Regions from separate parts of the Homo sapiens genome. Here regions 1, 2, 3, 5 and 6 are each linked to region 4. Evidence: promoter capture Hi-C in 16 types of primary human blood cells and fetal thymus (Javierre and others, 2016). All regions are on one chromosome and are shown on one strand. The core of a region is centred on a gene start or on the middle of the fragment in contact, and the rest is flanking DNA. Distances in the headings are between cores, read along the strand shown.

Evidence for each region. Contacts are between HindIII fragments. The CHiCAGO score rates a contact against its expected background, and 5 or more counts as called.
Region 1: the fragment with the promoter of TMSB4X here is called in contact with the fragment with the promoter of MSL3 in region 4 in 1 of 17 cell types (non-activated CD4 T cells); the score reaches 6.7 in non-activated CD4 T cells.
Region 2: a contact is called between a fragment that was not itself captured here and the fragment with the promoter of MSL3 in region 4, in 1 of 17 cell types (neutrophils). The highest score is 6.5, in neutrophils.
Region 3: a contact is called between a fragment that was not itself captured here and the fragment with the promoter of MSL3 in region 4, in 1 of 17 cell types (naive CD4 T cells). The highest score is 5.2, in naive CD4 T cells.
Region 5: a fragment that was not itself captured here is called in contact with the fragment with the promoter of MSL3 in region 4 in 5 of 17 cell types (non-activated CD4 T cells, naive CD8 T cells, activated CD4 T cells and 2 more); the score reaches 12.1 in non-activated CD4 T cells.
Region 6: a contact is called between a fragment that was not itself captured here and the fragment with the promoter of MSL3 in region 4, in 1 of 17 cell types (neutrophils). The highest score is 11.3, in neutrophils.

The regions. Positions count from the first base shown.
Region 1 is chrX:12,971,999-12,976,717 of GRCh38, reverse strand. It overlaps TMSB4X (thymosin beta 4 X-linked), which reads right to left and starts at 1,608. Exons shown (of 3, transcript NM_021109.4): 1 at 1,550-1,608; 2 at 357-472. The coding sequence starts at 456. RefSeq lists enhancers at 51-889, 1,729-2,568, 2,692-2,811, 2,832-3,091, 3,102-3,171. The HindIII fragment of the contact is 8,223 bases long and covers 1-4,719 here.
Region 2 is chrX:12,880,792-12,885,292 of GRCh38, reverse strand. The region is part of intron 2 of TLR7 (toll like receptor 7); the gene reads right to left. Among named protein-coding and RNA genes, the nearest start is that of TLR7, 16 kb to the right of the region's middle. The HindIII fragment of the contact is 843 bases long and covers 1,799-2,641 here.
Region 3 is chrX:12,814,492-12,818,774 of GRCh38, reverse strand. The region is part of intron 4 of PRPS2 (phosphoribosyl pyrophosphate synthetase 2); the gene reads right to left. Among named protein-coding and RNA genes, the nearest start is that of PRPS2, 25 kb to the right of the region's middle. The HindIII fragment of the contact is 2,432 bases long and covers 1,754-4,185 here.
Region 4 is chrX:11,755,011-11,759,486 of GRCh38, reverse strand. MSL3 (MSL complex subunit 3) reads right to left here and starts at 1,250. Exons shown (of 13, transcript NM_078629.4): 1 at 1,122-1,250. The coding sequence starts at 1,223. It overlaps MSL3-DT (MSL3 divergent transcript), which reads left to right and starts at 1,404. Exons shown (of 2, transcript XR_007068393.1): 1 at 1,404-2,735; 2 at 3,967-4,476. RefSeq lists an enhancer at 803-1,097 and silencers at 951-1,330, 1,341-1,490, 1,511-1,710. The HindIII fragment of the contact is 7,532 bases long and covers 1-3,699 here.
Region 5 is chrX:12,790,773-12,795,625 of GRCh38, reverse strand. It overlaps PRPS2 (phosphoribosyl pyrophosphate synthetase 2), which reads right to left and starts at 4,214. Exons shown (of 7, transcript NM_002765.5): 1 at 4,007-4,214. The coding sequence starts at 4,128. RefSeq lists a silencer at 3,509-3,958. The HindIII fragment of the contact is 1,938 bases long and covers 1,467-3,404 here.
Region 6 is chrX:10,206,468-10,211,191 of GRCh38, reverse strand. CLCN4 (chloride voltage-gated channel 4) reads right to left here. Exons shown (of 13, transcript NM_001830.4): 7 at 4,628-4,724; 8 at 4,416-4,496; 9 at 2,602-3,147. Among named protein-coding and RNA genes, the nearest start is that of CLCN4, 52 kb to the right of the region's middle. The HindIII fragment of the contact is 2,101 bases long and covers 2,424-4,524 here.

The DNA.
Region 1 (4,719 bases), core at 359-2,858, 1.2 Mb before region 4:
AGACTAAAGGGCTTTCATTTAAAGCATCTTTTCAAATCATAAACATTCTACACGGTATTCCACAATGGAATAAAATATGTATATTGAATATACTAAATAGAAATACATTTTAATGGATAAATGTTTGTATATTAATATGGCATATTAAATATTCCATTACTAAATTACTAAAGCCCCGTGTTTGTTGGCTGCAAAACCATTTTTAATTAACCTTTGCAAGCCACATTCATCAACTGTCGGCTCTTCCCCCGCACTCCCCCCTCCCGAATTCTTCCCGCGGCCGCTCCCAGCCTCCCGCCCTCCCACCGGCCGCTCCCACCCAGCCTTTCTAAAGATGGGGGTGGGTCGGAGCTCACTTTCTTTGGAAGGCAGTGGATTTTTCTCTTGCGTCTCTGTCTTCTTCAGTTTCGACTTATCGAATTTCTCGATCTCAGCCATATCGGGTTTGTCAGACATGGTTGCGGAGGAAAAGCTGCAGGGAGCAAGCCAAGAGCGAGCGTGAGGAAGAGCCACCCGCCCCGCTGTCTCTGGGCTGGGAACTGCACTTCTGCCCTCCGACCCGCAGCCTGAAAAAAACCCTTCTCGCTCTCCTACTGCTGCCGTTCCGCGCTCACGAGCTTCCTCTTTCTACAGAAAAAGAGGCGACACCCCCCGCGCCCCTCCTCCCCATATTTCAAAACGCTGTGGACCAAAGAGGGCGGATGCCTCTCAAAGCCGAATCTTGCAGAATAAAGGAAATTGACCACTGCGAATTGTTAATTACAGCGTTTAAAATTAAAGGCTGGCTAGGACAAGGAAAGAAGAGGAAAGCCACTTCCAAATTCAAGTGGGAAAAATCGGCAAGAATTCCTAAAATGGAGCCCAGGTAGGAAAAGCGTTTCCATTTCCTAGCCGCGGCCTCTCCGCAAGGATGCGGGCCGGATCCGGCTTTCTAGTCCTCTCACAAAGGCGGCGGCCGCGGCTGGAGCTTCCGACCACCGCCCTACCGGCTTCATCGCCCGCGTCACAATGCAGCCCCGCACACAAAGCGGCCGCCGCGCGCCCCGAAGCCGGTCTTGCCTGCTCTCCCGGCAATTCGGCATCCCTGGCACACATGTCTCTGCAAGAAGGACTGTAAAGATGTCATAGCACAGCCCCGCCGCCGCCAGGCTGCACAGATGCAGCCCGCGCAGCCGTCCGAGGCTGGGAGGAGGCTCGGGGCTCGGAAGATGAACCTCAGAACAAAGGACTTGTCTATTCCCCCATATCTCAGCCTCCAAGGCAACGCACAATACCTTTGCGGGCAAACACTAAGAAATTTTTTAATGTCCCCTCCGAGCGGCACGGCAAAACGCCAGTTTTTCGGTTTTGTTCTTAAATCATCGATTTCCCCACCCCATTATCCAGTATCTAGGGTGTTTCGCATCCCCCCAGCTCCCCAAAGTAGCCTTCCCGGGGAGAACCACTCGGGCTCGGATTTAGGGAATGCCTTCACAGGGACGCGGATGATGAAAGGGCGGGGACGGAGGCAGGACGGCAGGAGGAAGGAGGCAGGGGCCCTGGGGCTCACCGAAGCGAGGCGCACGAGTACGAGCGAAGTCTGGTCTGCGCAGTGGCCACCACCGAGTTGTCGGGCGGGGTGCGGCGGGCGCAGCTTTATGGGCGCTCCTATGTAAATGAGGTGATGTCACCCGCCGGCCCGCTTAACTCCTTCGCGCCGCGTCTCGGAACGGCATCCGGAGGCCTGCCGGGCTTTTGGGGAGGGGAGCCCCACCCCCACCCGGGGTCCACTAGTGCATGCACCCTAACCACAACGATGGCGAAAAAAATGAGCAAAGCACCCTCCAACACTTCATAACACATTTTCCCCTTTTACGTTTATTTCATTACGATGAATTTTTGCAACAGCAGCGCAGAAATTGCTCTTGGGGACCAGTGCATAATAACTAAGGGTCGGGGTGGCACCTGGGGTGACAGGCATTCTTTTATTTCGAAACTGCCTTTGTCTACTGTGGACATCTCCACACAAGGGCGCGGTGTCCCTCCCTGGAGGGCCTGGCCCGCTGCAGGGGTACGATTCCTGTGACTCAGCTTTCAGTCCAGTGGCGGGCATGCGCCCCACCCCGGGCCTCTTTGTCTTCCTCGCTGGCGTTCCTCTTGCCTTGGGTGGGACGTAAAGCACCCTTAAGTGATTTTAAAAGAGAAAGTTTCATCACTGAAACATCCATATTGTTTCATCAGCATAATTTTTGTGAGCACTCAACAGTAGTATTTGCTGGGTGTAAGGTAATTTGGAGTTTATAGGGTAAAACACCTCCCTCTTAGCAAAATAAGTCAAGCTCAAGCTCTGCCATTGACTTTACTGCCGGACAATGAGGAAGTTCTTTACCTTCCTCTTCCTTATTTTCATAAATTTTAAAAGTGATGGCTAAGGAGGCCAGCGTTGAATTCCAAAGACTACAGTTACATTATCTCTAATGTCTTAAGATGAAATTCAAAAATCAAATTATATTTTCAAGGGAGCGTTTCCAGCACTAGGACATCGCTGAAGTGCATCTGCATCTGGAAATATAAGAGATTCGGGTAGAGGGAAGCAGTTTTCAAAATGGCACCTGACTCTGTGAATACCAGTGACCCACTTGCTACTGAAAATTAGTTACAAATACCATGCCACGCGCCTGCAAATGGCGTGTGAAAGGAAAAAGACTCGCCGGTTATAAAGAGGCCTAGCTGTGATTATTTCTAAGAGACAAGGCAGTGTGCAAAATATTCCTTCTCCTTTTCCGTGGCCTGGGGAAATGTTTTTAGAAACCCCTTGCTAATCATTTTTATGGCACAGGCTTTTGTCTCGCTGGGGATTAGAGTCAACCTTATATATAGACCCTTGAATGCCACTGCCAGCAGCTTGGACTTCCCCGTTTCTCCATCTACTTGACTTCCTTTTTCCTGGGGAGGAAGGAGGTGGGGGTGAGCAGGGGCAGGTGACCGTCTGGTCCCCTAGTTAATGCTCTGCTGGGTGGCTGCCTTCCTGGCCTCCGAATGGGGCACTGGACCTGTTCGTGCATGCACCAAATGTCACCTGTCTGGTAACAGCCCCCCCGCCCCTGTTCCATGTTGGGAGTCTACTTCATCGTTGAAACACAGAAAAGATCTTGCAGGGTGCCTTTTCGCCCGTTTAGCTGGCAGCTGCCGTTGTACCGACACCGTTTCCGCAGGTTCTGTGATTCTGTTTCCCCTCACCCAGCTGCTGTCGAAAATCATTTCTTTCCTCCCAATGTCTCCTGATGACAAAGGAGTGCCACTACCTTCTCCTGGCTTCTTCTCCCAAGGGCCTTTCCTCAGAAAGGGTTAGGCCTCACTGAAGCAATTCTCCAAAGGAGATGGACGAATGCAAACTTGGAAATGTCTGGAGAAGTTTTCCAGTGCGGTAGCAAGCAGCCTTCCACTGTGCTGAGACACTGATGGAGGGCAGGTGGAAACAGAGAGGAAGAGAAAGAGAGACGACTGCTTAAAGGAAAAGAGTTCCCATGATTGGGACTGACCTGCCAACCGGTCAGGAGACCTAGAGAGACAGGAAAGGGAAGGGTGGTGCAGATACAAGGAAATGCAAACCAAAGGAATATTCTTAAAAGTTGCATGACTCTGGCCATGTGAATGAATCTTTCTGTGCTGGAGTTTTCTCATCTGTAAAATGGGTTCATTGCAACACCGACCTCACAGGGTTGTTGGGAGGAGTAAATGCTTCGGACAGTGCATGACAATTAGTAAGCTCTTTCTATTGTTATTATTCGTATGATTTAGGATGGAAGGTTGAGGAAAAATAATAAAATAATTGTCTTAGTGTTTAGAATTAATTAAAAATTTTAGGTGTCTTGATATTATTTCTCCTATAGAGACATTTATATATTATTATATATTATTTCTATATAATTAATACATATGAATATATATTATTATTTTCACTTACAAAATGTTGATAGAAGATCTTTTGGTAGTTTTACAGCAAATAAAACATGACAACTCCTGTCGGTTGATATTTTCTAAGAGTCAGGCATTGTAACGTAAGTTTTACATTTGTTTTTTCCTTTCTTTCCCACCGCCTTTCCATAAGAAATTTCCAGATGGGGAAACTGAGGCTTAGAGAGCCATCATTGGGTTACCTCAGCTGGTAGCCACTCTGTTATATATGCCAAGAGCATGTAAAAGTCCTCCCCACATCCTCTTAGTCTGTACCCGAGAATCACCAGGAAGAGTGTGAGGAGCTAGGCAGTTGTGCTTTCCACAGCGTCTGGTGGATAGTAATTGCTCAATAACAGTTCTCCCACTGCATTGAATTGATTTTCTTTTCTTTTCTTTTTTTGAGACAGTCTCGCTCTGTCACCCAGGCTGGAGTGCAGTGATGTGATCTCGGCTCACTGCAACCTCCACCTCCCGGATTCAAGCCATTCTCTGCCTCAGCCTTCCATGAATTGATTTTCTTAAATGAGGGAGGTACTTGAACTCAGGTGTTGAACCTGTGACTCTAATTGTCTTGCTTTCTTCTCCCCAGATAATTAAATCCATTTAGTCTTAATGTTCTAGATGTCAGAATGTTCCAGGATCATCCCTGCCCCAGGCAGCTACATTTATAAGTCTGTTAGTATGTGCCGGGCACAACTACCATTGAGGTAGCAGTTTTCGATCCCAATTAAAAAGACAGAGGCACACAGGGGCAAAGGAACTGCTTACAATGGGTGCAGA
Region 2 (4,501 bases), core at 971-3,470, 1.1 Mb before region 4:
CTTTAGCAAAATAGCTTTCGAGAGGGTAGAAGCAGCATTTTCCTATTCGTTGTTACATGGAACACTAAAATTGCAGAGCCATAGATTCACTGCCAAAGTCTGAAATTTGGAGGGTGAAGAAATGTTAGAATATGGATACACCCATGAAAAATAACACATGAAGACTTTAGTGCAATTTATGTCGGCCTGCTAAACCTGCCCTGGTACACATTACATGAGTCTTTCATAGTATTTGAGTCTCAGAATATTCTAAGATTCCCGTTTTACAAATGAAGACATCGCTCAGCAATATTAACTGATTAGCCCAAGGTTACCCAGTAGTAAGTGGCATTTGATTAGAAAACATACATTCCTGCCATTCTGGCACTGACATTCCATAATCTGGCTCTTGTCTTGGATTGTTTTTGCAAAGAATCTTGCAAATTATCCCCTCCAAGGAGATTTTAGGATGAGCATTTTCCCTACACATTGGGTTTACATTACATAAATTTGGAGAGGAGATAGTAGTAGAGTCAGGGCACTGCCTAGGTGATACATAATCAGAGGAACCGTATAACTGATCCATTAGTATACTTACAAGAATGAAGTGGGGCTGGTAATAATTACACCAAGACTATAGGCATAAACCAAGAGTCTGTCAGGCAAACTGGGACATATGGGAAACTACCCATAAAGATGATTGTTGTGCATCTAGGTTTAGCATGACAGACACTGGGACCCTAGGGAGAAAGGCCCTAAAAGGGAATATGGGAAGTGCAGAAGAGCTTTAAAAATCACCTTATTACCTTCCACTGGCTCTGCCTTACAGAATGCTTTAACCGTGGACTGGCTCTCAAGTTTCAGGATTTCTAGCAATGTCTACTCCAGAACACTGGTTTTAGTTTAGTACTTACGCATGGAGTGGTCCAGCCTGTGTCTCTACCATAGGGATCTAGCTCAGTTAATGCTTTTATCTTCCCAAGTGACTGAATCAACCAATCATGTTGTTATCTAAGAAACCAAATGCCTACTTCCACCAGATGTGGTGGCTCATGCCTCTAATACCAACGCTTTGGGAGGACAAGGCAGGCGGATCGCTTGAGGCCAGAGTTCAAGACTAGCCTGGGCAACATAGCGTGAGACCCCTCTCTCTACAGAAAATAAAAAATTAGCTGGGCATGGTGGCACACAACTGTAGTTCAGCTACTCGGGAGGTTGAGTTGGGAGGACCTCTTAAGCCCAAGAGTTTGAGGTTGCAGTGAGCCGTGATCACACCACTGCACCCCAGCCAGGGTGACAGAGCAAGACCCTGTCTCAAAAGAAAAACAAAAAAATCCTACTTCCCTTAATTCCTCTAATTGGAGGTAAATAAGCAATTTTTTTTCTCCAATGCAAGATGGCTCAGAAGGGATTTTTCAGGTCTAAAGTTTGTTGGAGTTAGAGGTACAAAATTGTCTCTTCTTCTTGTCACCCCCCTATCTTTTCCTCCCTATCGTTAAAAACATTGAGAGTCCAGCTGACCTCCTTCATTGTTCTTAACATCCTCCTTGCTTTGAGGTTTTAGCTGACATAATATCAGCTGAGATCCCTCTATCCTTGGTCCACTCCAAAGCCTCCTCTCTCACTTTCCCAGTCTACCCTATCTATCAAGCTTCCCAAACCTTAATCAGTCAGTTTCTTGCTGTGAACTCCTTGAAATTGTTTCCCAGGCTCAAGCGATCGTCCCACCTCAGCCTCCCAAAGTGCTGAAATTACAGTCATGAGCCACTGCACCCAACCTTCTTATTTTATTTTATTTTTTACAGTATGAGCTGAAGCTTTTTATCATGGCATCCAAAGTCTTCCATAATTTGTACCCTGTCTACTTGTCCGGCTTACCTGATTGAATTCCTCTACTAGCCTCACTAGTCGATAAACCCAAGTTCCCTGACTTGCAAGTCCCTCCGTTAGAAGTCCTCTTCCCTACCATTTTCACCCACCAGATTTCTACTTATCCTTTAAGGCTATGTTTCTCAAAAGGAGCACTCAGATACCTCAGAATATATGGCAATATGCCAGTGGGTACAGGAAGCCCTTAAATAAATATGGTACATCTTTCTAGAGCACCAGTCTTTCTCAGAGATTTAGGAAAAATGTTCACTACTCAGGGAGGAGGAGTTGAGTCAAGATAGAGGGATGGCTATGGTCCCTGATAATAGGATTTTATAGTCCCTGATAATAGGATTTGTACGGTTATAGGATCCCAGGCCCTGGACCCAACCCCTGGCTATGCTTTTGTCCAAAGACATAATGGGTTCATAGATCCCACTATCAGGAGGCAATTGGTAATGCTGCCCAGAGTGATATTGTAAAGCAGAGAGTGGAGTTGTACTTCAGAGGGGGCCAAGGTGGGTAAATGACAATCATGAACCAGGTCCCTCTTCCCATCCCATTCCCATGTACCTAAATGAGAGCCTGGGAAGAAGTGGGAGGATCGCTGAATTGAGTTAAAAACATGAAGTGATTGACACAGCAGTCCTCATACTGCGTTTCCGAGGATGTGCCTAGTTTAAGTGTTTTCGTGATCAGGGAAAATGGAGGCTGTGAAATGAAGGAAGTTTAGTTGTGGAAAAATCAAGTCACCTTCACCAGTGGTGTGATGGTAAATGTTTAACAAGAAGCTTTGCCTGATTTGTTGTCTTGATTTGTAGCATTTGTCAATTTCTATAGTGTAAATATTCCCTCCATGGCCAATTTCAAGTGGGGTCCAGCACGCCACTGGCCTTAACACACCTGAGACAATGACTGTGAAATTTTTAGCCTCTACACAGTGACATATTATAAATTAGAATGCAAATTAATCAGAAAACCTCCCCCGCCCCCCACTTATTTCTAAACTTTTTTCTCGCACCTGTCCACTTTTCTCTTTGACTATTACCACCTCCCAACTCCAATTAGTCATTAGGTCTCATCTGGACCACTATGCTAGACTCCAAATTGCTCTCCCTGCTCCCCCTTCTCCTCTATAATTCATTCATCCAACAGCATCAGAGCGTTCTTTATAAACCTGAATCAGATCAACTATAATGTCTTCCTATTACACTTTAAATGAAATCCAAAGTCTCTACCATTGCTTATATCAAGGGTGTTCTGACTTCAGCCTACCTCTCTGACCTTGAGCCATCTTTCCCCTCCTTTACCACATATCAGCCATCTGGTCTGTTTTCTGTTCTGCATTCAAGCCAGCCTTGTAACCACCACAGTCTTGGCACTTGCTGTTTCCTATTCCTGAAATCATCTTTCTCCTCCTCTTCCCACAGCCCGGTCATTACCACCCCTTAGTTGCCTATTCAAGTGACACATCCTCAGAGAGGCTTTCCCTGACCAACTTATCTAAATATCTTCTCATGTAAGAATAGTGATAATAATAGTAATAGTAGTTAACTTACGTAGCACTTACCACATGCCAGGCATCATTTTAAGTGTTTTCCATATATTCATTCATTTAATCCTCACAATAATGGATACTACAGGTCTTCAATCCCTTATCCGAAACCTTTGGTGCTACATGTGTTTTGGAATTCGGAATTTTTCAAATTTTAGAAGGTAATACGCTACATGTACCCTAAATTATGTAATAACTATTGAGGCCTGGGGCAGCATTCCATAATCAAACACACAAAATTTCTGCAGTGACATATAGGATTGTCCACTCTAAGTGGAATTATTAAAAAAAAAAGAATAAATAACTCAGTTATTTATTATTTATTAAAAAGAATAAATAACTCATTTATTATTTATTAAAAAGAATAAATAACTCAGTTATTTATTATTTATTAAAAAGAATAAATAACTCAGTTTATTATTTATTAAAAAGAATAACTCATTTATTAAAAAGAATAAATGACTCATTTATTTATTAAAAAGAATAAATAACTCATTTATTTATTAAAAAGAATAAATAACTTCAGTTCAGGTCAAGATCTACCTCCAAATGCATTCAGATCATATTATGTTTGCAATCAACTGAGTTAGGACAAAGCTTTCAGTTTTGGGTTTTGGAATTATAGACTATTATTATTATTATTATTATTATTATTATTATTTGAGACTGAGTTTCGCTCTTATTGCCCAGGCTGGAGTGCAATGGCATAATCTCGGTTCACTGCAACCTCCACCTCCCGGGTTCAAGCGATTCTCCTGCTTCAGCCTCCCAAGTAGCTGGGATTACAGGTATGCACCACCAGGCCTGGCTAATTTTTGTATTTTTAGTAGAGACGGGGTTTCACCATGTTGGTTAGGCTGGTCTGGAATGCCTGACCCCAAGTGAACCACCCACCTCGGCCTCCCAAAGTGCTGGGATTACAGGCATGAGCCACCATGCCTAGCCTAGACCTCTATTATTATCTCCATTTTACAGATGAGTCAACTGAGGCACAGAGAGGTATATGCACTCTGTAACTGACTACCCTGTTTGATTTCGGTCATAGCCCTTACCACGGTCAGAAATTATCTTGATGATTTATGTTGCTTATTCGTATGA
Region 3 (4,283 bases), core at 1,720-4,219, 1.1 Mb before region 4:
TGAAGAGTGGATTTAAATGGTGAAACTTATTTCAAGACAATGCCACAGGTATAATGTAACATTAAGATTTTCCTTTTCCAGTTTTTAAAATAACAGTCATTATGCAATTTAGCTGAAAAAATGCTTTGGGGACCAATACACACATGGCCCAACTTAAGACGCAGTACATGGAGGATATAACCTCCACACACTAGTTTTAAAGTCCTAGTCCTACTCATTGTGTCATCCTCAGATGACGACCAGGAATGGAGCTCCTCGCGTGCTCTGATGAAGGACAGAGGGGACACTCTCTGGGGCTGAGAAGGCAGTGGGAAGGGCAGTTAGGTGCTCCAGGCTCCCCTCCCTATTTCTGAGGATTTTCACAACACAACCAGTGTTTCTTTTCTTTTCTTTTTTTTTTTTTTTTTTGAGACAGTTTCACTCTTGTTGACCAGGCTGGAGTGCAATGGCACAATCTCGGCTCACTGCAACCTCTGCCTCCTGGGTTCAAGTGATTCTCCTGCCTCGGCCTCCTGAGTAGCTGGGGTGATAGGCATGCACCACCACTCCTGGCTAATTTTGTATTTTTAGTAGAGACAGGGTTTCTCCATGTTGGCCAGGCTGGTCTCGAACTCCTGACCTCAGGTGATCCGCCCACCTCAGCTTCCCAAAGTGCTGGGATTACGGACATGAGCCACTGTGCCCAGCCAGTGTTTCTTTTCAATTGTGGTAAAATATACATAACACAGAATTTATCCTTGGAGCCATTTTAAAGTGTATTAATTCAATGGCATCAAGTACATTCACAACATTGCACAACTATTATCTCTGTCTAGTTCCAGAACATTTCATGATATCAAAAGGAAACCCCACACCCCTTAAGCAGGCACTCCCTATTCTCCCCTCCCCCCAGGCCCTGCCAAGCATGAATCTATTTTCTGTCTCTATTCTGAACTTTTTGTATAAATGGAATCATAAAATACGTGCATTTTTGTGTCTGGCCTCTTTCAATTAGCATAAACTGTTCATAGTCCATCCACACGGCTGCATAGATGAGTACTTCATCTCTCTTTAAGTCTGAATAACATTCCATTGGGTGGATACAGCGCATTGCGTTCATCCATTCATCTGTTCATGGCCACTCAGGTTGGTTCCACCTTTTGGCTATACTGAATACTGCCGCTATGAACACTGGTGTATAAGTATCTGTTTGAGTCCCTGTCTTCAAGTCTTTGGGGAATATACCTCAGAGTGGAATTGCTGGGTCATATGGTAACTCTGTATAACCTATTCGGCTAATATTTCCTTTTTTTTTTTTTTTTTTTTTATGAGGAACATCTTTTATTTCTTGTAAAGAGGGGAAAATAAGATTTTTTAATATTTCTCACTCATAAGATTTTTAAACTCTTAAAAATGCAATATCCTCTTTTCAAAGCACATGCCATCTTAAAAAAATCTTAGCAATGTACATTTGCACTCAAAGAAAAACATGGCAGCACCACTGTCTTCTGACAAAATTCTGCATAAAAAAACCCTATGCAACTTTTTGCAAATATGTTCCTTCTTTATTATTCAGGGACACCAAACCACAAACATTCAGTGCAATATTTATTGTTTTTTATTTCCGTAGGAAACACAGGACCAATGATGTCTTCTGACAACTGTTTCCTGATGATTTGTTGGGTTTATTGGATCTGAGGATCCTCGGATCCAATAAACCCAACAAATGAATTCCCAAACAATCTTAACAAAACTATAGAAGACCAAGAAAGCTTAAAAGAGACAAAGAATAAAGACAAGTCACCTAGTAAGGATGGCCAAGTCCTCAACTTCCCCAATGGAAGCCAGAAGTTATGGAGTCATATCTTCAATGTGATATGAGAAAATAACTCTCAGGCTAGGAGTCTATACTCAGCAAAACTGCCTTTCCAGAAGGAGAGCAAAATAAAGATAGTTTCAGCCAAACTATACAACCTGAGAATTTATTTCTAACATATAACCACTTAAAGAATGCAACTTAAGCAAAAGGAAAATCACCACAGATACATTGAGATGTGGTGAGGGGCAGGGGCAGAGAAAGGTAAGCAAAGATATTGATCAATATGTGGACAAATCTAAACAAATGTTGATTGTACAAAACCAAAATAATAATAATGTCTACTTTGTGGAGAAGGAAAAACTAAAGCATATAGTAGCTAAGCATGGTGGCTCACACCTATAATCCCAGCATTTTGGGAGGCCGAGGCAGGCAGATCACTTGAGCCCAGGAATTGGAGACCAGCCTGGGCAACATAGTAAAACCCCATCTCTACAAAAAATACAAAAATTAGCCAGGCATGGTGGCATGCGCCTTTAGTTCCAGCTACTTGGGAGGCTAAGGTGGCAGGATTACTTGAGCCTGGGAGATCGGGGGCTGCAGTGAGCTGTGATCGCGCCACTACACTCCAGCCTGGGCAACAGAGCAAGACTCTGTCTCAAAAACAAAAAAACCACATAGTAAGGTGGTGGTCATAAATCCAACTATGTCAATTATCATAAAAGAAAAGGGACCAAACTTTCCAGTTAAACACAGAGACTGTGAGATAAGAGAATAAGACATCAACGTCCTTGAAGCAAAGGGAATCATTACTATATTGAGGTCCATGTTTCTCCTACCCTTAGAACACTCATCCTACCCTTAAAACACTCATTCTTCAGGATGCAACCAAAACCACAGTAGCCCTAGCAGATACCCTTTGTTTGTAAACTTGTCTAGCTGTCAACAGTTTCCTTACTTAAAGATTTAATTAAAAAAATTAATTTAAAGGCCAACAAAAATTTTGCTCCATCATCACCTTAAAACACCTACAGTTCAGCCAGGCACGGTGGCTCACAGCTGTAATCCCAGCACTTTGGGAGGCCGAGGTGGGTGGATCACCTGAGGTTAGGAGTTCAAGATGAGCCTGGCCAACATGGTGAAACTCCATCTCTACAAAAATACAAAAAGTAGCCGGGCATGATGGTGGCTGCCTGTAACCCCAGCTACTTGGGAGGCTGAGGCGGGAGAATCGCTTGATCCCGGGAGGTGGAGGTTGCAGTGAGCCAAGATCACGCCATTGCACTCCAGCCTGGGCGACTGAGCGAGACTCCATCTCAAAAAACAAACAAACAAAAAAACACGTACAGTTCTATTATCTACATGCCAATGTCATAAAAGCCACTCAAACTCCAGGTAAGGAAAGCTACTTTCTGGGAACATGAGACAGGTTTTCCCAAGACACATGAACACCTCGCACAAAATGTCCACATACATTACCGTCTGCTTATTTGGTAACGACTAGGCAGATTTGGGCATGACAGGATACCAATCCACAGCCCAGCACTGGGAAGCACTGCCCTTTGTGGTGGAAGTTCTATACCGGAGAAGTTAAAGCAGAACCTGTTTTCATCTCTCTGCCAGGTGGCGCCTGTTCTCACGAGCCTGCTCACAAGCAGACAGCAGGGTAGGCATGGAAGTGGGACTGGGAAAGAAGGTGAGCTCTGTGGTTCTTGGCAGTGGGGGACACAGACATCTCACTTGAGTGGGGAGCCCTAGCCACTAAAAGGTATCCAATGGTAATGTCAGAAGAAGAAGATAAGAGAAAATACCCCTGCAAACAGCTTCCTGGGTTGTTAGAACGCTATGATTTCCTGAAAAAGCTATAGGTAACTCTTCTTTTCCTTGTATATCATGGAGACCTAATACATACTCCTAACAAATGATGTTGACACAACATACCACACTGAAATCTTAGGCAGAAAAAGGCAGAACGAAAATTATATACATACAGTTTTGGATTTCTTCTGGGCACATATTTACAATCTTTTCTCTGTGGGTGCATGTGCCATATCAGCTCCCCCAGGAGAGACAGATACATAGTACACCAAATTATTCATAGTGGCATCACTGGTTGAGATATAAAGTGTTAAGATTTTCTTCTTTCTACTTTCCAAATTTCCTATAGAGCATCTTCAAAGATTATGTAATCAGAAAAAAAGTTAAATCTGAGTTATCTAGTTTTACCCTCTTCCCATACCACTTTTAGGTTGACACTTGCTATCTCAGCAGTGGTAGGTAGGTTTCTTAGGTTTAATTTTCTTTCCGTGGTCAACCCAACCAAGCTACAAAGCCTACCCAAGAGTGACCTCCTGTGGCAACATTCAGTTTTACCCGGAACGAGTCAAGCTTCAAAGCTTTTTCTAAAGCAACAAGCTCCAATTGGTCAGACAGAAATTTACAGTATTTTATTTTGCTAACTATGACCTTTTGCATCAAGCAAAGAAGT
Region 4 (4,476 bases), core at 1-2,500:
AGAGCTCTGGGAGTTGTAGTCTCCTGGGCTCCCCTATGTCCAGTGCCAGGATGGCTAGCTGGAGACTCTGGAATCCCTCCCTGTTGTGTCCCTAGAGGGAACAACTAAAACTAATGATGGGGCGTGCCCCCCCCCCTCCGCCCCGAGGAGGCTGGAGGGCGAGGAGAAAGAGGGATAGCAGACGCGGTTAAAAGACAGGAGCAGCAGGGGAGGGAACTGAAGGCAGAATATGCTCATCCCTTTAGGGATGTCCTTTAGCATCTCTAATGGACAGAGCTGTCCAGACATCGCCAAAGACACACCTGGGACTGCCCCTGTCCCTGCCGCCTAAGGCTTCGCCCAGGTGGCCCTAGGAACCCAGGTCTCTGAAATGAAAGCACCTGGGTGCTTTCCTTGGGGATCTGGGAGACCTGGTGCCAACTCCTGCCCGCCACCCAAATCTGAGGAGCTGCAAGATGTGGCTCAGCTCCCGGAGACTTAGGTGGACCGGCCCGGGGCGCGATTCCCATCAACTATGGTCAGACCCACGTAAATCCTTCAGAGTTTGAAAACGTAAATGCTGCAAGGCCCTGGGGTACGAAAACACTGGGCCAACCTTGCCCTCGGGATGGGGTTCACGGCCTACAGGCGGGATGGGGCCTAAACTGGACTAGGGTCCCAGGGACACAACGTCGCAAGTCAGCGGCCAGCGCCGTGTAACTATGAATTAGAACCTGGATCGGACGGCCAGGGCGTCCCACAGGAGCCCACCCGGCACCAGGCCGCACAGAAGGAGACATTTAACGCGAAGACAGAAACCGTATTCGAGAAGCCTCCTCCCTCAGCGGCCACCGTTGCAGTCGGGGGCGCAAACGGTAGCCCCGGTAACGCGACAAAGCATGGGCGAGGCTCCCAACCGCGCGTGCGCCGCCCGGCCTGACGGAAGGAAGTGGAAGCATCCCAGACCCCGCCCCGACTCCCGGGCGTAGCGCCCTGTGAGCGCCCCCTGCCGGCCGCACCGCTCCTCGCAGGCCGAGGAGCCCGGCCGGTCCCTCAGCTCCGCGCGGCCGTCCGCCCCCGCCCCCGCCCCCGGTCCCGGGTCCCCCAGCCCGCGCCTCCTCCCTGTCCCTCCGCGGCGGCACCTTGGCATCGTACAGCACTCGCGCCTTGGTGGGGTCAGGCTCGAAGCACAGCACTTTCTCCCCTGAGTGGAATTTAAATTTCATGCCCTCGCTCGCGCTCATTTGCTCATCGTGGCGGAGGGCGAGGCTCCGGGGCGGGCGGAGCGCGCGCGGTGGGGGAGGGCGGGCGGGGGCGGGGAGGCGGTGCGCCGTGGCCGGGGGGGGCCGGGAATGGCGGAGGCTGCGGCCGCCCCGCCCTCGGCCCCTCCTCCGCCCGCCCCGAGCCGCTGCCGGGACCTCGGAGGCGCCTGGCGCGCGCGCTCCCGCCCGGGCGCGTCCCCGCACGTCCCCGCCGGGGCTCCGGGAGGGGTGCGGGCGGGGAGCGCGACCCCCTGGCCAAGGTCTACCGGCAGGACGTCTCCCGTCGCCCCCATGGGAGAGGGTCCCCGCGGCCTCCAGGCTGCGCCCACGTGCGCGCAGGGTCGTCCGTCGCCCCGAGCGCCCGCTCTCCGGCCCGGGCGTGGGAGGCGCCTAGGGAGAGAGAGAGCCGGTCTGGAGTAGGCACCCGGCGGCCGGGAGGCTGGACGGCGTCTGCCCCCAAGAGCTCCCTGGCCGTGCGCGCCGCGTCAGCCCCCTTGGCAGAGCAGCGCGCCGATGAGTGTGGCCACGCTTGGAGAACGCAGCGCTGGAGCTGGCCCCAGGCGGGCAGTGGCCTCGGGCGAGGGCAGAAGGGCACTCCGGGCTGTGAATAGAACACTTGCTTATCCCTTCAGAGGACAAGCCGGTGGCAGGCCTGGAGCCCCCAGTGACGGGTTGAGCAGTGGGCAGCGAGGCAGATGGGTCCTTAAAGAGTAGCTGACGTCTTCAGTGTCAGCTTCTAGCGTGGCCTGACAGCCCCCAGCATCCCCGGAATGCCCCCCACGGTCTATCTGCTCCAATAGACTAAAAATTCCCTAAATAGAAGCACCCTTGAGGCCGCTATCAATATGGTACCTGCACAGAGTGGATGTTAAGTAAATACTTGATGAGCGAATGACAAGTGATGGGAGACTTGAAGGACAAACTTCCAGGGACAGGAAGGACAGTGCTGGGCTTTTTCTTTTGAGTTTTGGAAAGCCGTTGGGCAGTGTAATTACTGGATTAGGACCGGGCTGGAGACCAGCTTCCAGGCTAATCTCTGCGGACCTGGTGAACTTCCCCTTCTCTGTTCTAGCCTCCAGAAAGTTGCATTTGCTTCCCCTCTGCACGCTTCCTTCACCAGGTTCCTGGTATACATCCTTCACATTTCAGCGTGGGCATGCCAACAGAAAAGCCCTCAGGCTTCCCAAGATGAATCATAAAGCCCTGAGGTGTTCCCTCCCAGGACTCTGCTTAACCCCTTTCTTGCATGTACCACTGTGCTATAGAATGGGTTGTTCATTTGCAAAATGACCTCATTAAGACAGTAAGCTCTTTGAAGCTGGGGGTAGGGGTCTTATCCAATTCATCACGGCGTATTCGTGGCACATAATATGGAATGAATGAACAGATTGATTTAGGAAATAGAACCCACAAAACTCAGTGGCCAATTGGATGTGAAGGAGAGGGAAGGAGGAATCTTGAGAGACTTCCAGGTTTTCTGGCCCAAGGAATTGGGTGAGTAATAGCTGCATCCGCCAGAATAAGGCTATACAGAGGAGTTAAAGGTTGGGGGAAGATGGTCAAATGGCCTTTGGGGTAATACGGTGCAGAAACTAGAACTGGAACCATGATTCCTCTCCAGGTTGTGGTGTATCAGAGATGAGAACAGTAGATGGTGGTGTTCCCCACAAATGGCAGGGGCGGCTTGGAAGCACATGTAATTGCACGTCCTGTGTAAACCGTAACTGAAGTATTCACCTTTTTATTTTTCCTGCCCATGATTGGAGAGAGTTCTGCTGCAGGCTCTACCCTTTCAGGGATAGGATTTTAGATGCTTTCCTTTGTTTCTCCGCATTTCCACCCCTTCTTATGTCATTGAGGAATTCCTCTTTCCCCGTCCCTCTAAAAAGTCCAAGAATGCAAAAGCCTTCAGGAACCTAAAAGTTAAAAAGCCTGCCAATGGCAGCACCCCTTACAGTCCTCCTCCAGATTAGGATCCACTAGAGAGGGCTCCACCCTTAATGCAGGACATCATTTTTCCTCTCGGGTGTAAAGGTTAAGAACATGGCCAGCTCTGCAAACCACTCTCCAGGACCCAGTCCCATGCTTGTCACTTTCTAGCTTGTGACCATGGACAACTGGTTAGTCTCTTTGTAATGCACTTTGTTCATGTTTAAAATGAAGGAAATAGTGGCTCCTACTTCATAGGGTTTTTTAGGAGTCAATGAGTCAATTCAGTGTACATGGCTTTGTGTAGTGCCTGACATATAAGGGCTGGGTAAATATTTGCTCTTGACATTAGGCATTTCTTATCTGTTTCTCCGTGTCCCCCATTCATTCATTCATTCATTCAGCAAATATTTATTGGACCTCCTGTGTGCTGGTTGCTAGACACACAAAGTAGAATACATACATTACCCCTGTCCTCCCAGAGGGCACATTTCAGGAGGGCGGAGCAGCAAGCAATCAAGTTCAAGCTTTATGTGCATACCCTGATAAAGCTGGTGTGGAATAGAGGAGACAGAAGAGCTTACTTCTCTCTAGGAGGAGGGAGAGTATCTGAAAAAGCTCCAGAGAGGAAGGCACTCTTGAATTGCAACTTAGGTGTTTTCCTCATTTTCCAGTTTTTGAGGTTTGGACAGTAGTTTCGTCTGTATTCGGGCATGATTATAGAATGGTCTTGTTTTTGTCGGGATTAAGATAACCATTAAATCTTATAACAAATCTTTTTGATTTCTCATTATAGGTCACCTACAGGAATTGCTTCTCTTAGCAAGGTGAGTGCAGTGCGGGATCCAGTTAGTTGCGTCGCCCGCCGCCCCGCTGGCAGAGGCCCAATTTTGTTCAGGTGTTTGCCATCCCACATTGTTAGAGCAGACCTCTCACCAGGGCTGGAGTGACACTTGATCGGGCTAATACGGTAGGACTCACCTCTGGGTATACATTTGGAACAGCTGGGGAACTTTGAAAACTTGTTAAAATACTGTTGCCAGGAGTTGGAATTTTGTTTCCAAAGTTCCCAGGCGATTCCATTGTGCAGGCGGGGCTGAGAACTACTGGTCTAAACCAATCCCGGCAATCCCCTTCCTCTTACAGTGACTGGTTTAAGTATGGTCATGTGATACACGCCTGGCCAATGAGAAATTCTCATAGCGAGTTAAAATGGGGAACTGTGAGTACTTCTGGAAAATATTTTCCACCTGCCTCCCCCCAAAAGAAATACATCTGGCATAAAGTCTCCTCTTCCTCACTGGGT
Region 5 (4,853 bases), core at 1,186-3,685, 1.0 Mb before region 4:
TGGCCCTCTATTGCTCTCTCTCAAATATGCTCTCTTGCCCTTCCACCCTTCTGCCATGGGATGATGCAGCAAGAAAGCCCTTGCCAGATGCCAGCCCCTCAGTATTGGACTTCCCAGCCTCCAGACCTGTGAGAAACAAATTTCTATTGTTTATAAATTAGCCAGTCTCTGGTATTCTGTTATAGCAGCACAAAATGAACTACAGCAGAAATCAAGTACAGTATTATATAGCTGAGAGGTTGACAAAACACAGCACATAGGCTGTTTTTCTATGGCCTGTGAGTTAAGAATGGCGTGGTAGGCAGAATAATGGCCCCCTAAAGATGTCTACATCCTAATCCTTTGAATATGTGAGTTTATATGGCAAAGGGGAAGTAAATTTGCAGATAGCATTCAGGTTGCTCATCAGCTGACCTTAACATGGGGAAATTATCCTGGATTATTTAAATTGGCCCATTGTAATCATGGGGCCCTTAAAAATGCAAGAGGGAGACAGCAGAAGCAGGGTCAGAGCAACATTTTGTTGCTGACATTGAAGGTGAAGAGGCCAATAGTGAAGGAATGTGGGCTGCCTCTGGAAACCGGAAAAGGCACGGGAACAGATTCTCCCCTAGAGCCTCAGAAGAGAATACAGCCCTGCTAACCTGTGACAGACATTACCGTAACTTACAGAACTGTAAGATACCGCAGCAACAGAGACTACATGTGCTAGCACTGCCTAAAATATTTACGATTTGGCCCTTTGCAGAAAAACTTTGCCAACTCCTGGTCTTATGACGTTTATCCCACAAGATTAGATTCTTTGGCCTGTTTTTACTCAGGAACCTCAGTTCTCATATGACTAGCAGTCCAGGGGAGGACAGAGAATATCATCACCATGGCAACTTTTCCCCTAAAGCTAGTCCTGCTTCTACTCAAAAAGATGATCATGACTACCTTTATTCTAGGTCTTTAAAAAATTGTGGCTAGAAGGCAGCATCCATTTGCCATTCTGCCAGAGGATCTTTATTGACCCCCAAATAAAAACGCTGAAGAGCGTCACTGACTCAACAATAAACGGGCATGGTAACTAAAAGATAGCCACAGACTCTTAACACATTTCCCATCAAGGAGCAGGGTCTAGTCTCCCGCCCTTGAATCTGAGAGGGCTCTGTACTTGCCCAACAGCATATGACAGAAATTATGATACACCAACTTGCAAGCCCAGTCCTTAATGGACTGGTGGCTTCAATGTCCTGTCTTTTGGAACATGTGCTCTTAGAACCCAGCTTCCATGCTGTAAGGAAGCTCAAGCAGCCCCATGGAGAGGCCTACAAGAAGAGGAGCTGAGGTTCCTAACCAAGCTCCCAGGCAAAAGCTAGTAACAACTTCAGTCATGTGAGCCATCTTCAAGAACCCTCCAGCCCCAGTTAGCCGCCTCAGCTGTGACCAGCCTCAGCTGTGACCATACGCGGCAAAAACAAGCTTTCTTCACTGAGCCCTTCCCAAATTGCAGATTTGTAAGCCAAATCAACAATTACTGTTTTAAGCCATTAAGCTCTTTATTTATTACATGGTAACCGATAACCTTGTATAACTTTGCATAACCTTGTCTCACAGTATAGCTAAAGATTCTGCCAGCAGGTTAACTGACCATAGTAAAATGTTACAACAGAGACATCTAGACACCTGCTGTCCTAAGATGTCATCATGGAATTTCCATGGTCTATAGTGAAGCTGGAGCGGACCTCTCCCTGCATATCTGAAATGATTTAGGGATAAGAAGGTAAAATTGGAAGGCTCTATGTTCAGTAAAGTAGCATATAAAAAACGCAAAATGGGAGGATTGATGGCCAGGAGACAGCAAACCAGATTTCTGATCCTAGTTCAGTGACAGATTCAAGAAGGGGCCCTTACATGAACTGAATCAATTTTGTCTTCATTTTGCCCTTCAGTTTTTCCTCTCTACGATTACACAGCTAAAAGCTGGATTCCTAGCACAGTAACTGGTCCAGAGAGGGCTGTTTATAAAAATTAAGCTCTGTACTTGTACAGTTCATGGAAAAGAGAAAAGTCAGGCAGTGAACCTTTTATACTCTATACATTAAAAACATAAAATGTAGCTATATAGGCAATTCCCAAACTTCATGCTGAGTGGTTTTTGAGGTCCCACGATTTCTAATTATCAAGTGATGGTTATAAAATGCCAAAAACAAAATAAAAGTGAGTCTGCTTTATATTTGAACCAAATGTATAAACAATCATACTTCAGTGTCTGAGTGAGTTTTGCCCAGTGGCACATGTGGTATTTTTAGGAGAAACTCAACACTGACTTAGCAGTGAACTGATCTAGATTAACCATGCTCCTTAGCAAAAGATCATGCTGCACTGAGTACCTGGAAGGGCAACATATTTGCTTTCAAAATTTACTTCATCAACAAATTTCTCCTTTACTTATATGACGACACCTTCTGAACAAAAACTATTCTTCTTCTCGTGTTCTTACAGCGACTGAAACTTGAACAAGACTGGCAAAATACTGCAACACTCAAACCTAGCTCTATCCTTCTCCAGAGCCCTAGACCATCCTCTCAGACTTCTGCATTAAACACTGCAGAGTGGAATTCTTTAGCCAAAGTCCACCTGCCACTCATTCACAATGTTTCTTCGCTTATATTATCATCGGAGCCATAACTGGAATTTGCCACCTGGAAGAAGTCACGTAAGATTCACATATCCTAAAAAGCTGACTTGCCAAAATATAGCATCTTCCCCATCAGTATTAACATAACTCCTCCTTAAGAAATTTTTGCCTAACCCCAAGTCAAGATTTTCTGCTAGAAATTTTATAGTTCTAGATTTTACAATTAGGTCTATGATCCACTTCAAAGTTAATTTTTACAAATGGTGAAAAGTATGGATGGAAGTTCATATTTTTTGGCATATGGGTGTCCAACTGTTCCAACACCATTTCTAGAAAATGTTGGTAAAATTGAACCTTTGCCAAAGATATAAAAATTATCAGTAACTGTGGACAGTTAACGGTACTAGACATTGGAGGAAGAAGGGGGAAAAATGAGACCAATTTGAAATGAGTCAAGGAGCTGTGTGGACTCAGGCAGATAGACAAAGGAGCCCCCCAGGTCAGCTTCCGAGGATGGCCACCACCTGAGGCTCTCCTGGACTTGAGAAATGGGTGAAAGTTACAGTCGAATCACGGCGTTGTTGCTGGACACAGCAGAGTCCTAGAACAAGAAGGAAGCTGAAAGTCCATCATCTTTAAAGCAGCAAGAGTAGTGGGAGCAGAGGGGAGCCCAGCACGTGCGTCCTGGGGTTCTCACAGTCTTTCAAACCTTGGCACAACTGCACCCTCTGGATAACGCAGTGGTCTGCGCCCTGGCTGCTCAGGAGAAGCCAGGGAAGCTTGTAAAATCGCTGATCCTCCGCCCGTTGGATCAAACCCTTGGGGGCAGGTCGGGGGAAGCAGCGTTCGGACCGTCCCCAGGTAAACCCAGCGTGCAACCAGAGTTGGGGACGGGGGGAAACCTTTAGTCGCACGCACTGGTCTGAGGTTCAGCTTTGTAGGGACGCGGAAACTGGGACCAGCCAACCCAGGACGTCTCTCCACCGCGCGCTGACCCGATGCGGTTCCCGCCCGCTGCGCCCACTCTCTCCCCGACGGTCTGTGACCGCCCAGACGTCTCCCTTCCGGGCTGGGGACGCCAGGCCGGGCGGCACCGCTGGGAGGCCGGGAGCGGCTCGGGACCGCCGGGTCGCCGCGGTCCCAGGACCGGAGGCCCTGCAACCGGGGGCACAGCCGAGGCGCGCATCGGGACGCGCGGCGCCCCGCCTCGGTTTCTTCGCAGGCGCGGGCGCGGGGGCGCGGAGGCCGCGTTGCCACCGTCCCGCCCCGGAAGGGGGAGCGCGGCGTCCGCGGAGGTGGCCCGGGCAGGCGCCGGCCCCCAACCCGGCCCCGCAGCCGCGTGCCCAGCGCTCTCCCTAGCCCGGCCGCCGGCGCGGCCCCCACCTGGTCTCCTGGTTGCTGAACTTCTTCGTGACCACCTTGCCCAGCTCCAGGCCCAGGCGGTCGGCCACGCGCTGGGACAGGTCCTGATGCGAGCTGCCGCTGAACAGCACGATGTTGGGCATGGTGGGGCGCGGAACTCCGAGGGGCGCGCGGCGGCGGAGGAGGTGGCGGAGGCAACAGCGACAGCGACGCGGGAGGCTGCTGCTGCGGGAGCGGGAAAGCGCGGCGGCTAGATGTAGGGAAGGGGAGGAGCGGAGGGGGAGGAGCCGGAGGAGGAGCTAGAGGGGGCAGAGAGGGAGGAAGAGCGGGCGTGGAGGGGGAGCTGGAAAGTGCCGGGGGGCGGGGGCACAGCCCTGGCAGCAGTTTTGGACGCCCTGGGTGGTCCTGAAGCCCGAAGGTGTCCTTGCTCCGCGAGAGAGCTCCGAGCTTCATTCTTGATCTTCCAGACCTGCCTCGCGGGGAGAGCCAATGAACCGCGGTTAGCTGGGCACAGAGGGAGAGTTCGGGCCGGGGGGATCCCTCGAGGTGCTTCGCAGCCCGGAGCGACTTCCCACCCCGGAACACCGCAAACCCAGTGTGGGCGACTGGTGTTCAGCTATAGCAAGGGTCTGCAAACTACAGCCTATGGGCCAGATCGCGAGAGCTCCCTGTGTTTGTACCAGAGAGCTAAGCATGGTTTTCATACATGAACATTTGCACTTTATGTGATGATAGCAGACACCGCCTTTGAACTCCAATTAAGAGAAATATCCCCCCCGCAAAAGAATTCCTTTTCTCTCATTAATAGATGTGAGTTGCAAATAATTGTACTCAAATATTACCGTATTTTGGATTATATCAATAAAAA
Region 6 (4,724 bases), core at 2,225-4,724, 1.6 Mb after region 4:
TGCGTTCAAGTGATTCTTATGCCTCAGCCTCCCGAGTAGCTGGGACCACAGGCGTGTGTCACCACGCCCAGCTAATTTTTGTATTTTTAGAAGAAATGGGGTTTCACTATATTAGCCAGGCTGGTCTTGAACTCCTGACCTCAAGTGATCCACCCACCTTGGCCTCCCAAAGTGCTTGGATTACAGGCATGAGCCACCATGCCCGACCATTAAATTTAAAAAAAAAAAAAAAAAAGACAATTCAGGCTGGGTGTGATGGCTCACGCCTGTAATTCTAACGCTTTGGGAGGCCAAGGCAGGCGGATCACTTGAGCCCAGGAGTTCCAGACCAGCCTGGTCAACATGGCAAGACCCCATCTCTACAAAAAATACAAAAATCAGCTGGGCATGGTGGCACGTGTCTGTAGTCCCAGTGGGCTGAGGCAGGAGGATCACTTGAGCCCAGAAGGTCGAGGCTGCAGTGACCCATGATTGTGCCACTGCACTCCAGCCTGGACAACAGAGTGAGACCCTGTCTCCAAAAAAAAAAAAAAAAAAAAAAGACAATTCAGGCAGGGCACAATGGCGCATGTGTGTAATCCTAGCACTTTGGGAGGCCAAAGCAGGAGGATCACTGGAGCTCAGGGGTTTAAGACCAGCCTGGGAAACATAGGGAGCTTGGTCTCTATTTTATATTTTTAATAAAAATAAATAAAATTAAAAGACAATTCATAGAAATGCCACACAGAAAGCAATAGTAATGGAACACAAAAGGGGGCTCTGGGAGGTGGATAATGTTCTGCTTCTGGTCCTGGGTGCTGGTTACACAGGTGTGTGTGTGTGTTTTATGAAACTCCATCAAGCTGTACACTTCTCTATATGAACGATATACTCTAATAAAAGTTTCTTTAAGTAAGTAATGATAGCATTATTCATAATAGCCAAAAGGTGGAAACAACACAAATGTCCATCAAAGGATGAGTGGATAAACAAAATGTGGGATCTCCATAGAATGGAATACTATTCAGCCATAAAAATGAAGTAGTGACACATGCTACAATGTGAATGAACCTTGAAAACATTGCACTAAACGAAAAAAGCCAGTCACCAAAGGCCACATATTATATGATATCATTTATATGAAGTGTCCAAAATAGGCGAATCTAGAGACAGATTAGTGGTTGCCGGGGCTGCAGGAGGGAAAAATGGGGAATGACTGTTAATGGAGATGGGATTTCCGTTTGGGGGATGAAAATGTTCTAAAGCTAAATACAGGTGTTAATTGCACAATATTGTGAATGTATGTAATGCCACTGAACTGTATACTTTAAAATGATCATTTATGTTTTATGGGTTTTACCTCATTTCAAAAAAAAAAAAAAAGCTATAATAACAAAATCCCAGGTTCCATAAAAGAAAGTTCTTTAGGAGGGGCTTTTAAAGTATTTTAACATAATGATTTTAACAAATGATTTTAACACAATGAAAGAGGAAACCAGCTGTCTCTTCTCTGGCTTTAGGAACAAGAGTAATGAAGGCATGTGCTGTTGGGTGTGGTGTGGTGGCTCATGCCTATGATCCCAGCACTTTGGGAGGCTGAGGCAGGAGGATCACTGGAGCCTGGGAGTTTGGGACCAGCCAGGGCAACACAGCAAGAGCCTCATCTGTACAAAAAATTTTTTTAAATCACCAAGTGTGGTGGTTCACGCCTATGATCCCAGCTACTTGGGAGGCTGAGATGGGAGGATCATTTGAGCCCAGGAGGTTGAGGCTGCAGTGAGCTGTGATCATGCCACTGTATTCCAGCCTGGGAACAAGACGAAAGGAAGGGAAGGGGGAAAGGGGAAAGGGGGAAGAGGAAAGGGAAAAGGGAAAAGGGAAGGGAAGGGGAGGGAAGAGAAGGGAAGGAAGGGAAGGAAGGGAGGGAGGGAGGGAGGGAGGGAGGAGGAAAAGAAAGCATGTGCTGTCATCCACAGCTCTGTTCTTCAAAGAGGATGTGTGCAAAGAGCCCCTGTCATGCCCAGCCCTACCCAGACGGGGGACACACTCACTCTGTGCTCCCGTCATACCAGCGTGGTGCTCATCACAATGTCAGAACTCCAGGTCTGCATCTCTTTCTCCCAGAGCTGTGTGCTCTGCAAGGGCAGCTTTCTGTTTGGGTTCTGTATCCCTCAGACTTAGCACGATGCCTAAGATACAGCTGATACTCAATGCATGTTTAATGAGCCAAACTGAGCCAAACCTGGGCTTTTTCCACCACCTGGCATCACCTGGCCAGCGGCAGGAAACCTGTGGTCACCACCACCTGTTCTGGGAATGTGTGAAGTGGGTTTGATGCCTAGCTCTGTCTCCCATAAGCTGTGGGTCTGATCAAGCCACTTAAGATCTCAGAGCCTTAGTTTCCTCAGTTGTAAAATGGGATTAAAATCTCTATTTCATAAGCTTATTGTTTATTAGAAGTTATTTCCTATTGATTAAAGGAATGTCAAGTGCCTGGCACATGAGAACATTCAAGAAAGGCCAGTTCCCCTTTTTTTCCCACCGCAATTTTATTTTAGAGAGTAGGGTGCTGTCCCCAGAAGGACATGGGTCCCCACCCCATCTTCCTTCCCTTTCACTTACCTTCATGCCAAAGGTAAATATGGTAACGACGATTTTGAAGATCAGTGCCAGGGCCAGCTGCCACATGGCCGTGTAAACACCGACACCAGCCGGCCGGTCTGGAATGTCATCCACAGGCCGAGTCATGTTGGGGTCATTGATGTAGTCACAGAGCTGGGAAGACTCAAGGGCTCCACAGTCATTGAACAGCTCAGAAATGAGCTCGCTGGTGCTCTGGCGTGTGTAGGGATTGGGGTAGGCAATGATGGCAGTGATGGCAGTCACCACAATGACCTCCAGCACCGGGTACTTCCCCAGCCTGGTGGTCTTGCGCCTCCTGCACCAGGCGATGTTGCAGCGGATGAAGAGGGTTCCCCACAAGCCCCCGAAGACCCCAAGCAGGATGAAGGGGAAGAGTTCAGCCATGTACCAGGGCGTGTGGTATTCCACATAAAAGAGAACGAGACGGCTATTCCCAAAGGGATTGATGGATCTCAGCGTAAAGGCCGCCACCAGGGCTGCGAAAAATGACCTCCACAAGGTCTTCAGGGGAAAGTAGTAACTGACCTGAGATGAAAAAGTGGAAAATTAAAGACTGGCCGGAGAAAGAGCTGCTCAGAGCCAAGCCCTCTGGTTGGCAGGAAAGTCACACTCTAAGTCCAAGAGTGGACACACTCATTCCATGAGCCTGGACTTAATGTGACCAAAACGCATCAGCAAAGATACCTGGAGGAATCTAACTATGTCTAGAAGTGGAATGGACACTAATCAAGGTGGGTTTGGGCTATATTTTTAAGAGAAAAGTATTTAATCATAATTCTGTTCATGGCACAGAGACTCCCCTAGAAGCAAATAAACCTCTGGATTGGATTCTACAGAAAACAGAGTAGATCAGGGTTTGGAAAACTCTGGGCTGCAAGTCACGTGCAGCCCAGTGAATGCATTTGTATGGCACATGAGTTAAGAATGGTTTTTACATTTTTAATTGATTGAAAAAGGTGAAAAAATCTTTTGATTTGAAATATTCAAAAGAAGAACAATATTTTGTGACATGTGAAAACCATAAAATTCAAATTTCAGTGCCCATAAGGAAACATCTATGGAAATGCAGACATGCCCATTTGTGTACGTATTGTTCACAGCTGCTTTCATGCTATGACAGCAGAGCTGAGCAGCTACAACAGAAATTGCATGGCCCACAAAACCAAAAACATTTACTACCTGGCCTTTTACAGAAACGTTTGCCAACCCCTGGAATAACCCGTTTGGGTTACCAAAATCAAAAATGCTTAATTAAGTTGGTTATGAGAGGGAGAATACTGTAAATCTTTTTAAAAAATCACCTTGGCAATTTTTGAAACAATACTTGAAAACAGGAATTTATCGCTGGTGGCCGGGTATTGTGGCTCACGCCTGTAATCCCAGTACTTTGGGAGGCCGAGGCAGGTGGATCACCTGAGGTCAGGAGTTCAAGACCAGCCTGACCAATATGGTGAAACCCCCATCTCTACTAAAAACACAAAAATGAGCCAGGCGTGGTGGCGTGCACCTATAGTCCCAGCTACTCAGGAGGCTGGGACAGGAGAATTGCTTCAACCCGGGAAGCGGAGGTTGTAGTGAGCCAAGATTGCGCCATTGCACTGCAGCCTGGGTGACAGAGTGAGACTCAGTCTCAAAAAAAACAAAAACAAAAACAAAAACAAAACAAAAAAAAAACAGTGGAAATTGTGGCTCCTTAATTAACTGCCGGAATCTTATCCAATACTTCTTTGATTCTAACCCTCAACGGGCCTTGCTGCTCAAAATCACGAATTCCCTCAGCTGCCCATTCTCACCTCTTCTAGACTGAAAAGCACGCCTCCAATTGGTGCACCAAAGGCAACAGAGACTCCAGCAGCCGCTGCAGCTGAAAGCACCTACAAAACAAATAGTTCTACATAAGCTTCAAGGCCTTCCATGAAAACAAACGTGCAAACCTGCAAGTCAGACAGCAGGAGGGGGCTTTGAGAAGAAAGTTTCGCTGCAGATGGAAGCTGAGCTGGCTCACCTCCCGCCTCTTGCCCTCATTCTTGCTGTACTTGGAGAAAAGGCTGCTGAAGAAGTTGCCACAGCAACAAGCCACGTGCACTAGCGGCCCTTCCTTC